Linked DNA regions of Homo sapiens: regions 1 and 2 are each linked to region 3. Evidence: promoter capture Hi-C in human tissues and cell types (Jung and others, 2019). All regions are on one chromosome and are shown on one strand. Each heading gives the region's core, a stretch centred on a gene start or on the middle of the fragment in contact. The rest is flanking DNA. Distances are from core to core; before and after follow the strand shown.

What was found. Contacts are between HindIII fragments. The study calls those that stand out against the background at their distance.
Region 1: the fragment with the promoter of SLC1A5 here is called in contact with the fragment with the promoter of TMEM160 in region 3 in 1 of the 25 tissues and cell types used here (pancreas).
Region 2: a contact is called between the fragment with the promoter of PTGIR here and the fragment with the promoter of TMEM160 in region 3, in 1 of the 25 tissues and cell types used here (small bowel).

The regions. Positions count from the first base shown.
Region 1 is chr19:46,786,917-46,790,063 of GRCh38, reverse strand. SLC1A5 (solute carrier family 1 member 5) reads left to right here and starts at 1,470. Exons shown (of 8, transcript NM_005628.3): 1 at 1,470-2,664. The coding sequence starts at 2,099. RefSeq lists silencers at 1,153-1,312, 2,283-2,332, 2,343-2,392 and enhancers at 1,258-1,552, 1,201-1,802. The HindIII fragment of the contact is 6,368 bases long and covers 762-3,147 here.
Region 2 is chr19:46,623,710-46,626,638 of GRCh38, reverse strand. It overlaps PTGIR (prostaglandin I2 receptor), which reads left to right and starts at 1,550. Exons shown (of 3, transcript NM_000960.4): 1 at 1,550-1,642; 2 at 2,402-2,929. The coding sequence starts at 2,414. RefSeq lists an enhancer at 835-1,335. The HindIII fragment of the contact is 28,599 bases long and covers 1-2,929 here.
Region 3 is chr19:47,047,105-47,049,883 of GRCh38, reverse strand. TMEM160 (transmembrane protein 160) reads left to right here and starts at 1,260. Exons shown (of 3, transcript NM_017854.2): 1 at 1,260-1,477. The coding sequence starts at 1,270. RefSeq lists enhancers at 1-317, 318-835, 959-1,253, 1,763-1,832 and a silencer at 1,293-1,482. The HindIII fragment of the contact is 17,900 bases long and covers 1-2,779 here.

The sequences.
Region 1 (3,147 bases), core at 221-2,720, 260 kb after region 3:
CTTTCTTCTGAAGGGCATTTTTGTTAGAAACAAAAGAAGAGAGAAAGAACAAAAAATTTTAAAGCACAAATAAATAACTTTTTTTTTTTTGAGGTGGAGTCTCACTCTGTCACCCAGGCTGGAGTGCAGTGGTGAGATCTCGGCTCTTCGCAACCTCTGCCTCCTGGATTCAAGCAATTCTTCTGCCTCAGCCTCCTGAGTAGCTGGGATTACAGGCATGTGCCACCACACCCAGCTAATTTTTGCATTTTCAGCAGAGACAGGGTTTTGCCATGTTGGCCAGGCTCGTCTGGAACTCCTGACCTCAAGTGATCTGCCCGCATCAACTCCCAAAGTGGTGGGATAACAGGCGTGAGCCACTGCGCCCGGCCGTATTATCTCATTTGAACCCTTGCAACACTCAAGGCGGTATGACTTATTATTATTCCCATTTACACATATGAAGACTGAGCCTCATAGAGGTTGTAAATTACCTGAGGCCTCACAGCTGCTGTAGGAGGAAGCTTCTGACATTACCACTACAATCTTTGAGCAAGCATGAAAGCCTGAAATGTCACAGAACAGGCTAGAGATGGGAAAGGAATGAGGATTTCAACACTGTCAGGTGGAGTAAGGAATCATAATTCATTGTTAACCTCCCAAACGGCCACTAACAGAGAATTTGGGGAGGCAGCAGAGTGGGTGCGGTTAGGGGCTTGGGAGGTGGGCATGCACGTGTCATCCTCTCTAGGTGTGGCCTCAAGGTGAATGACTTCCTCTGCCTCTGGGGTTCAAGCGATTCTCCTGCCTCAGGCTTCCAGTAGCTGGGATTACAGGCACGTGCCACCACACCAGGTAATTTTTGTATTTTTAGTAGAGACGGGTTTCACCATGTTGGCCAGGCTGGTCTCGACCTCCTGACCTCAAGTGATCCGCCCGCTTCACCTCCCAAAGTGGTGGGATTACAGGCTTGAGCCACGGCTCCCTAAATAAATACATCAATTTTATTTAAATCTTACAGCAATCATATGAGACAAAAGCTTTTAACACCTGCACTTTATATTCGAGGAATTAAAGTTCTCAGAGGCGACTAAAGACCAAACTCAGGGCTGAGGAGTTCCAAAGCTGAGTTGAGTTGCAAATGAATCACCGAGGACCACCGGAGCTTTCTAGCGACCCTCGCACCAGGGAACGAACCCCTGTGGTTTAAGGGCTCCAACCCACAACCCAGTTCCTTTGGCGGGAAACAGCACCCTCCCAAGGCCCCGCCCCTTCCTGGCCCCGCCCCGTCGTCTCTGGGCCCGGCTCCTGGAGATGGGTATTATTAATCTGCCTTCTATGGGGGACCTGGCCCATCTCGGGTATCAGCCCCGCCCCTACTCGTCCAGTCTCCGAACGCTCTGCAGCCAATCGGCGCCCGAGGGTCGGTCCCCGCCTTCTCAAGCCCCGCCCCCTACCCTTATCCCTGGCAGCTTCCGCTAAACGGGCTCAGAGCCACGCGGCACGCCCGGGAGGCTTTCTCTGGCTGGTAACCGCTACTCCCGGACACCAGACCACCGCCTTCCGTACACAGGGGCCCGCATCCCACCCTCCCGGACCTAAGAGCCTGGGTCCCCTGTTTCCGGAGGTCCGCTTCCCGGCCCCCAGATTCTGGCATCCCAGCCCTCAGTGTCCAAGACCCAGGCAGCCCGGGTCCCCGCCTCCCGGATCCAGGCGTCCGGGATCTGCGCCACCAGAACCTAGCCTCCTGCAGACCTCCGCCATCTGGGGGCACTCAACCTCCTGGAGCCAAGGGCCCCACGTCCCACCCAGAGAAACTCTCGTATTCCCAGCTCCTAGGGCCAAGGAACCCGGGCGCTCCGAACTCCCAGCTTTCGGACATCTGGCACACGGGGCAGAGCAGAGAAGCCTCAGCGCCCAGCCTGGGGAATTTAAACACTCCAGCTTCCAAGAGCCAAGGAACTTCAGTGCTGTGAACTCACAACTCTAAGGAGCCCTCCAAAGTTCCAGTCTCCAGGTGCTGTTACTCAACTCAGTCCTAGGAACGTCGGGTCCTGGGAAGGAGCCCAAGCGCTCCCAGCCAGCTTCCAGGCGCTAAGAAACCCCGGTGCTTCCCATCATGGTGGCCGATCCTCCTCGAGACTCCAAGGGGCTCGCAGCGGCGGAGCCCACCGCCAACGGGGGCCTGGCGCTGGCCTCCATCGAGGACCAAGGCGCGGCAGCAGGCGGCTACTGCGGTTCCCGGGACCAGGTGCGCCGCTGCCTTCGAGCCAACCTGCTTGTGCTGCTGACAGTGGTGGCCGTGGTGGCCGGCGTGGCGCTGGGACTGGGGGTGTCGGGGGCCGGGGGTGCGCTGGCGTTGGGCCCGGAGCGCTTGAGCGCCTTCGTCTTCCCGGGCGAGCTGCTGCTGCGTCTGCTGCGGATGATCATCTTGCCGCTGGTGGTGTGCAGCTTGATCGGCGGCGCCGCCAGCCTGGACCCCGGCGCGCTCGGCCGTCTGGGCGCCTGGGCGCTGCTCTTTTTCCTGGTCACCACGCTGCTGGCGTCGGCGCTCGGAGTGGGCTTGGCGCTGGCTCTGCAGCCGGGCGCCGCCTCCGCCGCCATCAACGCCTCCGTGGGAGCCGCGGGCAGTGCCGAAAATGCCCCCAGCAAGGAGGTGCTCGATTCGTTCCTGGATCTTGCGAGGTCAGCTCCCGCTCCCCCGGGAGGTGGGGAAGAGTGTTACGGATGGCGGGAGTGGTCACGTGGACAGGACGGGGCTTTGGGGCCCCTGGAGCAGAGACTTCCCTCTAGAGTCTTAGGAAAACTCGACAGGATATTGAGGGGAGGCTCCAGCCCTCGGGAGTGTGAGTCTAGTCTCCTGGGGAAGGGGTTTCTAAATCTGGGGGCCTGGGTACATAAGTGGGGTCTTATAGAGGGAGAAGAAAGTGATTTGGGGAGACATAGGAGGGTCTGCCTAGGGGAGAAAGACACTGAGGGGAGGGGACCCCAGGAGGAACTTTTGCGGGGGGAATCTTTGCGTGGTCAAGGGCCCCAAGATGGGGCTTCTAGATATAATTTGGGGCCAGGGTTGGAGAGTTTGGGTAAGGAGCCCCTGGAGGATCTGAGATCTGAGTAACTCCCACCAGGCCCTCTTCCCAGCCCTGGGGCACCCCCACACCACGTGTC
Region 2 (2,929 bases), core at 301-2,800, 420 kb after region 3:
AGGACCTGGAGCCCACATGTACAGGCACCCCCAGAGCAGGGCTGGGGGGTCCCTTAGGGAGCCACGGTGGGGCTGGAACTTGGGCGTCCATCCTGCTGGAAGCTGCGGGTGCCAGCTGGGCAAGGGTGATAGGGAGATGGGGGGGAGGGGCAAAGGGGTTGTGGTCACACACCGGGGTACAGAGGGCAAGACGGCAGCTGCCCACAGTCCAGTCCTTGGGTTGGACACATCCCTCCTGGCCTTGGACAAGAGACACCCGCACAGCCTCTCTCCTTGTTACAAAGACCAATCTGGGATGTGCTGCAGGCCGAGGCTGGCCACCAGGTCCCTGAGGCCCGTGTTACCCCACGCACAGAGAAGGAGGCTGAAGTCTACCAGCTCCCTCTCCTCACCTGGGACCATCTCGCAGCAAGAAAAAAGGTGGTCAGATGGAAACAGGAAGCCAAGTCGAATGGATCTGAGACCGTCCCCCTGAGAAACAGCGGGGCTCAGAGAGGGTCTCTGAGGTTTTATCTGGCCCTTTTGGGCTGGGAGGCTGCCTGGGAAGCCACCGACTCCGTGGGAAGGGAGACCCGTGAACGCTGTGCGGGTAGCGGGAACATGTGGGTCTGTCACACTGGCCCGAGGCTGCAGCGGTGGTGGCTTGGCTGTGTTTGGGGAGGGTGGGGGACACATGGCAGCAATGTTGGAGCTGTGGACAGCTTCCTGTGATCAAAATATGATTCCTGAAGGTCAAGGTCACCAGAGCTTGGCCTGGGGCCTAGGGGTGCTGTGCGAGAAGTCGGACGGTGGCCCAGTGCTACCTTTCCATCATGGGCCATGGAAGTCTCCCAAGCCTGTCCCTGACAACTGGACACCAAATACACCCCTTCATGCTTTCTTCTCGGGTCTCTGCAGGGTGAGCTGGGTGCCCAGGGACAGGCTCGAGGGACTGGCATGTCTCTCTCTGGCCAAGCCTCCTTCCTCAGCTTTCTGGAAGGAGTGAATTGTGTCCAGGGACCAGAACTCTCAGTGGTGTCTGGAAAACACTACATCAGAGAGGAATTTCCTGGTCATTTCTCAATCCCTGGGCAATGTCCTCAGCCCCGGGGCCTGGAGCCCAGAATAGATCCCAGAGGCCACCCTGAGACAGCCCAGGCCAAGACCACCCCACTGAAGCCTGGTCAACTGTGCTCTTCAGGTCCCTCCTAGAGGCCCCCTACTACCCCGGGAGGCTCCAAGCCTAAGTGATGGTGACTCAGGAATTCCCCACCCAGGCCAGAGAGGGAGACACTGGGGGAGGGAGGAGACCTGTGTGTGGGGAGGTGGCAGGTGGCTCAGTGATGGGAACCAAGAGAGGATGTGGGGAGGAGAGTGGAGGCAGCGATGGGAGATGGATGTCCTGGATTGGGCGGGTGGACGGGGAGTGGGGAGTGTGCCAGGGGGCCCTCTGGAGAACAGTGAGGGAGGGCGGGGCAGAGAGAGGAAATGAAAAAGCTGGGGTGAGCAGGCAAGCTGAGGAGGGTGGGAAGGAGGGAGGGACGGAGGGAGGAGGGAAGGAGAAGCTGACACACAGACCGACACAGGCAGCGAGAGACACGAGGAGCAAAGCAAGTGAAGGCACAGACGCACGGGACAGGAGAGCCTGGGCAAGACTGGAGAGGTGCGGTGAGGGGCTGGGGATGCAGCAACACAGAGCAGGAGCAGGTAGAGGGTGTGGGGTTAGAGGGAGAAAGGTACGGGGAGGACAAGGACAAGGGAGGGGACAGAGACAGGGAGATATCAGCAAGAGACCGAGAGACAGGGAGGGAAAGAACTGGCAATGCCCGGATGTTCTCTGTCTCTTTAATGGCAGAAACAGAGCTAGAGAAGGAAAGAAACAGGAGGTGGTGGGGGGGTGGTGGGTGTCAGGCATGGTGGCTCACACCTGTAATCTCAGCACTTTGGGAAGCCAAGGTGGATGGATCACCTGAGGTCAGGAGTTCGAGACCAGCCTGACCAACATGGTGGAACCCCGTCTCTACTGAAAATACAAAAATTAGCTGGGCGTGGTAGTGGACGCCTGTAATCTCATCTACTCCAGAGGCTGGGGCAGGAGAATCGCTTGAACCCAGGAGGTGGAGGTTGCAGTGAGCCGAGATCATGCCATTGCTCTCCATCCTGGACAACAGAGTGAGACTCTGTCTCAAAAGAAACGAAAGAAAAGAAAGAGAGAAAGAGAAACAGGAAGGTGGGGAGAGACAGAGAGAGATACTGGAGAAGCCAGAGGGGAGAGGACTGCATACCCGCACACACAGGAGAACTGGGGGTTGGCTGGGAGGCCCCAGCTGCCAAAAGGACTGGCCAGCAGGGACATCTGAGTGGGCTGGGTGGTGGGGGTAGCCCTGGCTCCCTCTGACCCCCCACCTTGGGAACCCTCCAGCCCAGACCTGGGATGGCGGATTCGTGCAGGAACCTCACCTACGTGCGGGGCTCGGTGGGGCCGGCCACCAGCACCCTGATGTTCGTGGCCGGTGTGGTGGGCAACGGGCTGGCCCTGGGCATCCTGAGCGCACGGCGACCGGCGCGCCCCTCGGCCTTCGCGGTGCTGGTGACCGGACTGGCGGCCACCGACCTGCTGGGCACCAGCTTCCTGAGCCCGGCCGTGTTCGTGGCCTATGCGCGCAACAGCTCCCTGCTGGGCCTGGCCCGAGGCGGCCCCGCCCTGTGCGATGCCTTCGCCTTCGCCATGACCTTCTTCGGCCTGGCGTCCATGCTCATCCTCTTTGCCATGGCCGTGGAGCGCTGCCTGGCGCTGAGCCACCCCTACCTCTACGCGCAGCTGGACGGGCCCCGCTGCGCCCGCCTGGCGCTGCCAGCCATCTACGCCTTCTGCGTCCTCTTCTGCGCGCTGCCCCTGCTGGGCCTGGGCCAACACCAGCAGTACTGCCCCGGCAGCTGGTGCTTCCTC
Region 3 (2,779 bases), core at 11-2,510:
ACATGGACGCGCATGAAACGATTCTCCTGCCTCAGCCTCACAAGTAGCTGGGATTACAGGTGCCTGCCACCATGCCTAATTTTTGTATTTTTAGTAGAGATGGGGTTTCACCATGTTGGTCAGGCTGGTCTCGAACTCCTGATCTCGTGATCTGCCCGCCTCAGACTCCCAAAGTGGTGGGATTACAGATGTGAGCCACCGTGCCTGGCCCGGGCTTGGATTTTATGAAGAGGAAAAGTAGGGGAGCTAGCAAGGGGGTTACACTTGAGGAGGGAGTTCAAATGGACTGCACTGCATAGCCTGCAGGCTTGCAATGAATGTGAAGCTTTAAATGGGATTAAGTGCAAATTGAAAATATTCCAGACACATTTTTCACATTCCTGGCTAGTGAAAAGGTTTATGCTGATGAGAGAAGGCAAAGCTGAATCCCGGAATGGGTTAGGGCAAAGAAAACAAATCTGTCTTAAAGAGACAGACCTGGCCGGGCACGGTGGCTCACGCCTGTAATCCCAGCACTTTTGGAGGCCGAGGCGGTTGGATCACTTGAGGTCAGGAGTTCGAGACCAGCCTGGCCAACATGGTGAAACCCTGTCTCTACTAAAGATACAAAAATTAGCTGGGCGTGGTGGCGCATGCCTATAATCCCAGCTACTCAGGAGGCTGACGCAGGAGAATCGCTTGAACCCGGGAGGTGGAGGTTGCAGTGAGCCGAGATCGCACCACTGCACTCCAGCCTGGGCGACAGAGCAAGACTCGGTCTCGGGGCGGGGAAAAAAAAGGAAGGAGGGAAGGAAGGAAGGAGGGGAGGGAAGGGAGGGAGGGAGGGAAAAAGAAAGAGAGAAAGAAAGAAAGAAGGAAAGAAAGAAAGAGAAAGAAAGAAAAAGAAAGAAAGAAAGAAAGAGAAAGAAAGAAAGAGAAACAACCAAGAAACAACTACAATAGGTGCTCGGCATGTACTCCGTTAAAAAAGATAGAATTAAAACTACAATTCCCAGCAGACATCTCGCCTGCGACTTCTGAATATCGGCTTTCCCCGAGCGCAATGATCGCTGGGATTCGTAGTCCGGTACAAAATCAAGGAGGGACGGGCACTACCGGCCTAGATGACAGAGGAGGGAATCACTGCCATTCCGACCAATGGACAGTTCACGCCGGACCTGAGTGGCGAGCGCATAGCCAATGGGTAAGCCATTCATCCTGAGTGACATGGGTTGCAACCTACCGGAGGCCGGTGGGGCGGTACGGCGCGCGGCGGCCGTAGTGCGAATCATGGGAGGCGGCTGGTGGTGGGCTCGGGCCGCTCGCCTTGCCCGTCTTCGCTTCCGGAGGTCGCTACTGCCGCCTCAGCGGCCCCGGAGCGGGGGCGCCCGGGGGTCCTTCGCCCCCGGCCACGGTCCCCGCGCCGGGGCTTCGCCGCCCCCAGTGTCCGAGCTGGATCGTGCGGACGCCTGGCTCCTCCGAAAAGCGCACGAGACAGGTCGGTGGCTAGGGGTGGGGGCGGTGCGGATGGGACGGGGGTCCCGGGCTCGCGTGGGACCTTGATGGGGCGGGGGCTTCTGCAGGAAACGGGGCCCGGGCTCGGCTCCGAGAAGGGCTTCAGTGTGAGCGCACGGAAGCGCAGACTGCAAGAGCGCAGGTGCCCGCAGAGGGGATGGGCTTGCGGGGAGGACGAGGACCCCGGGTAACGGGGCGCCGTAGGGATTGGAGGGGGTGGTAGGGTTGCGCGAGGCAGCCTCGTAGAATCGCGCCTGCCGTGGGGAGAGGGGCTTCAGGGAGAGCTTAGGGTCTGTGGAGTTGGGTACAAGATGGGTCCATCCCGATTGCAGAGGCCACCACTGTGCAGAGAGCGGGAGTGTGGATCCCCGCAGAAGAGGGGGAAGTTCAGGATTGGAGAAGGGGACAACCAATCGGGAGAAAGCTCTCTGCTGATTGGAGGGGGAGGTGATCTAGGCTGCAGAGGGCGGGGCTTGTGACGGAGGCGAGGTCCAGAATGGAGCGGACTGGCCATGTTTGTTTTTTTTTTAATTTTATTTTTTTAATGACGGTGTCTTGCTCTGTCACCGAGGCTGGACCGCAGTGGCGCAATCGTAGCCCACTGCAGCCTTGAACTCCTGGGCTCAAGCTATCCTCTTGCCTCAGCCTCCTGCTTAGCTGGAGCTACAGGCATACACCACCGCACCCAACTATTTTAATTTATGTAGAGACGGGGTCTTGCTTTGTTGCCCAGGCTGGTCTGAACTCTTGGGCTCAGAGAATCCTCCTGCCTTGGCTTCCCAAAGTGCTGGGATTATAGGTGTGAGTCACCTCACTAGGCCAGGACCGGGCATCTAGATATAGGGTGTGGTGGGCTGTTTGTAAAGGACGTGAATGGGGACGGACGTGGGTGGGATTGGCCCAGGCCATACTCGGTAGGACATGGATGGGATTGGCCCAGGCCATACTCGGTAGGAGATGGCGGCATTTGAAGGAAAAGAAGGGCGAGGCTGAAGAGCGGCCTGGATTAGGAAACAGTTTGTCCCAGAGTTCTGAGAAAGAAGTGAGTGGGCAGGCCGTGGGGGTACACGTAGAGGGAGGGGTTTGGCCAAGATGACTCCTCAGATGGAGGTTCTGCAACTTTGCCCCTAGATTGTCCTCCACATTCTGCAGGGACTATCTTGAATCCTTTATTTTTTTTGAGACGGAGTCTCACTCTGTCGCCCAGGCTGGAGTGCAGTGGCATGATCTTGGCTCGCTGCAACCTCTACCTCCTGGATTCAAGTGATTCTCCTCCCTCAGCTTC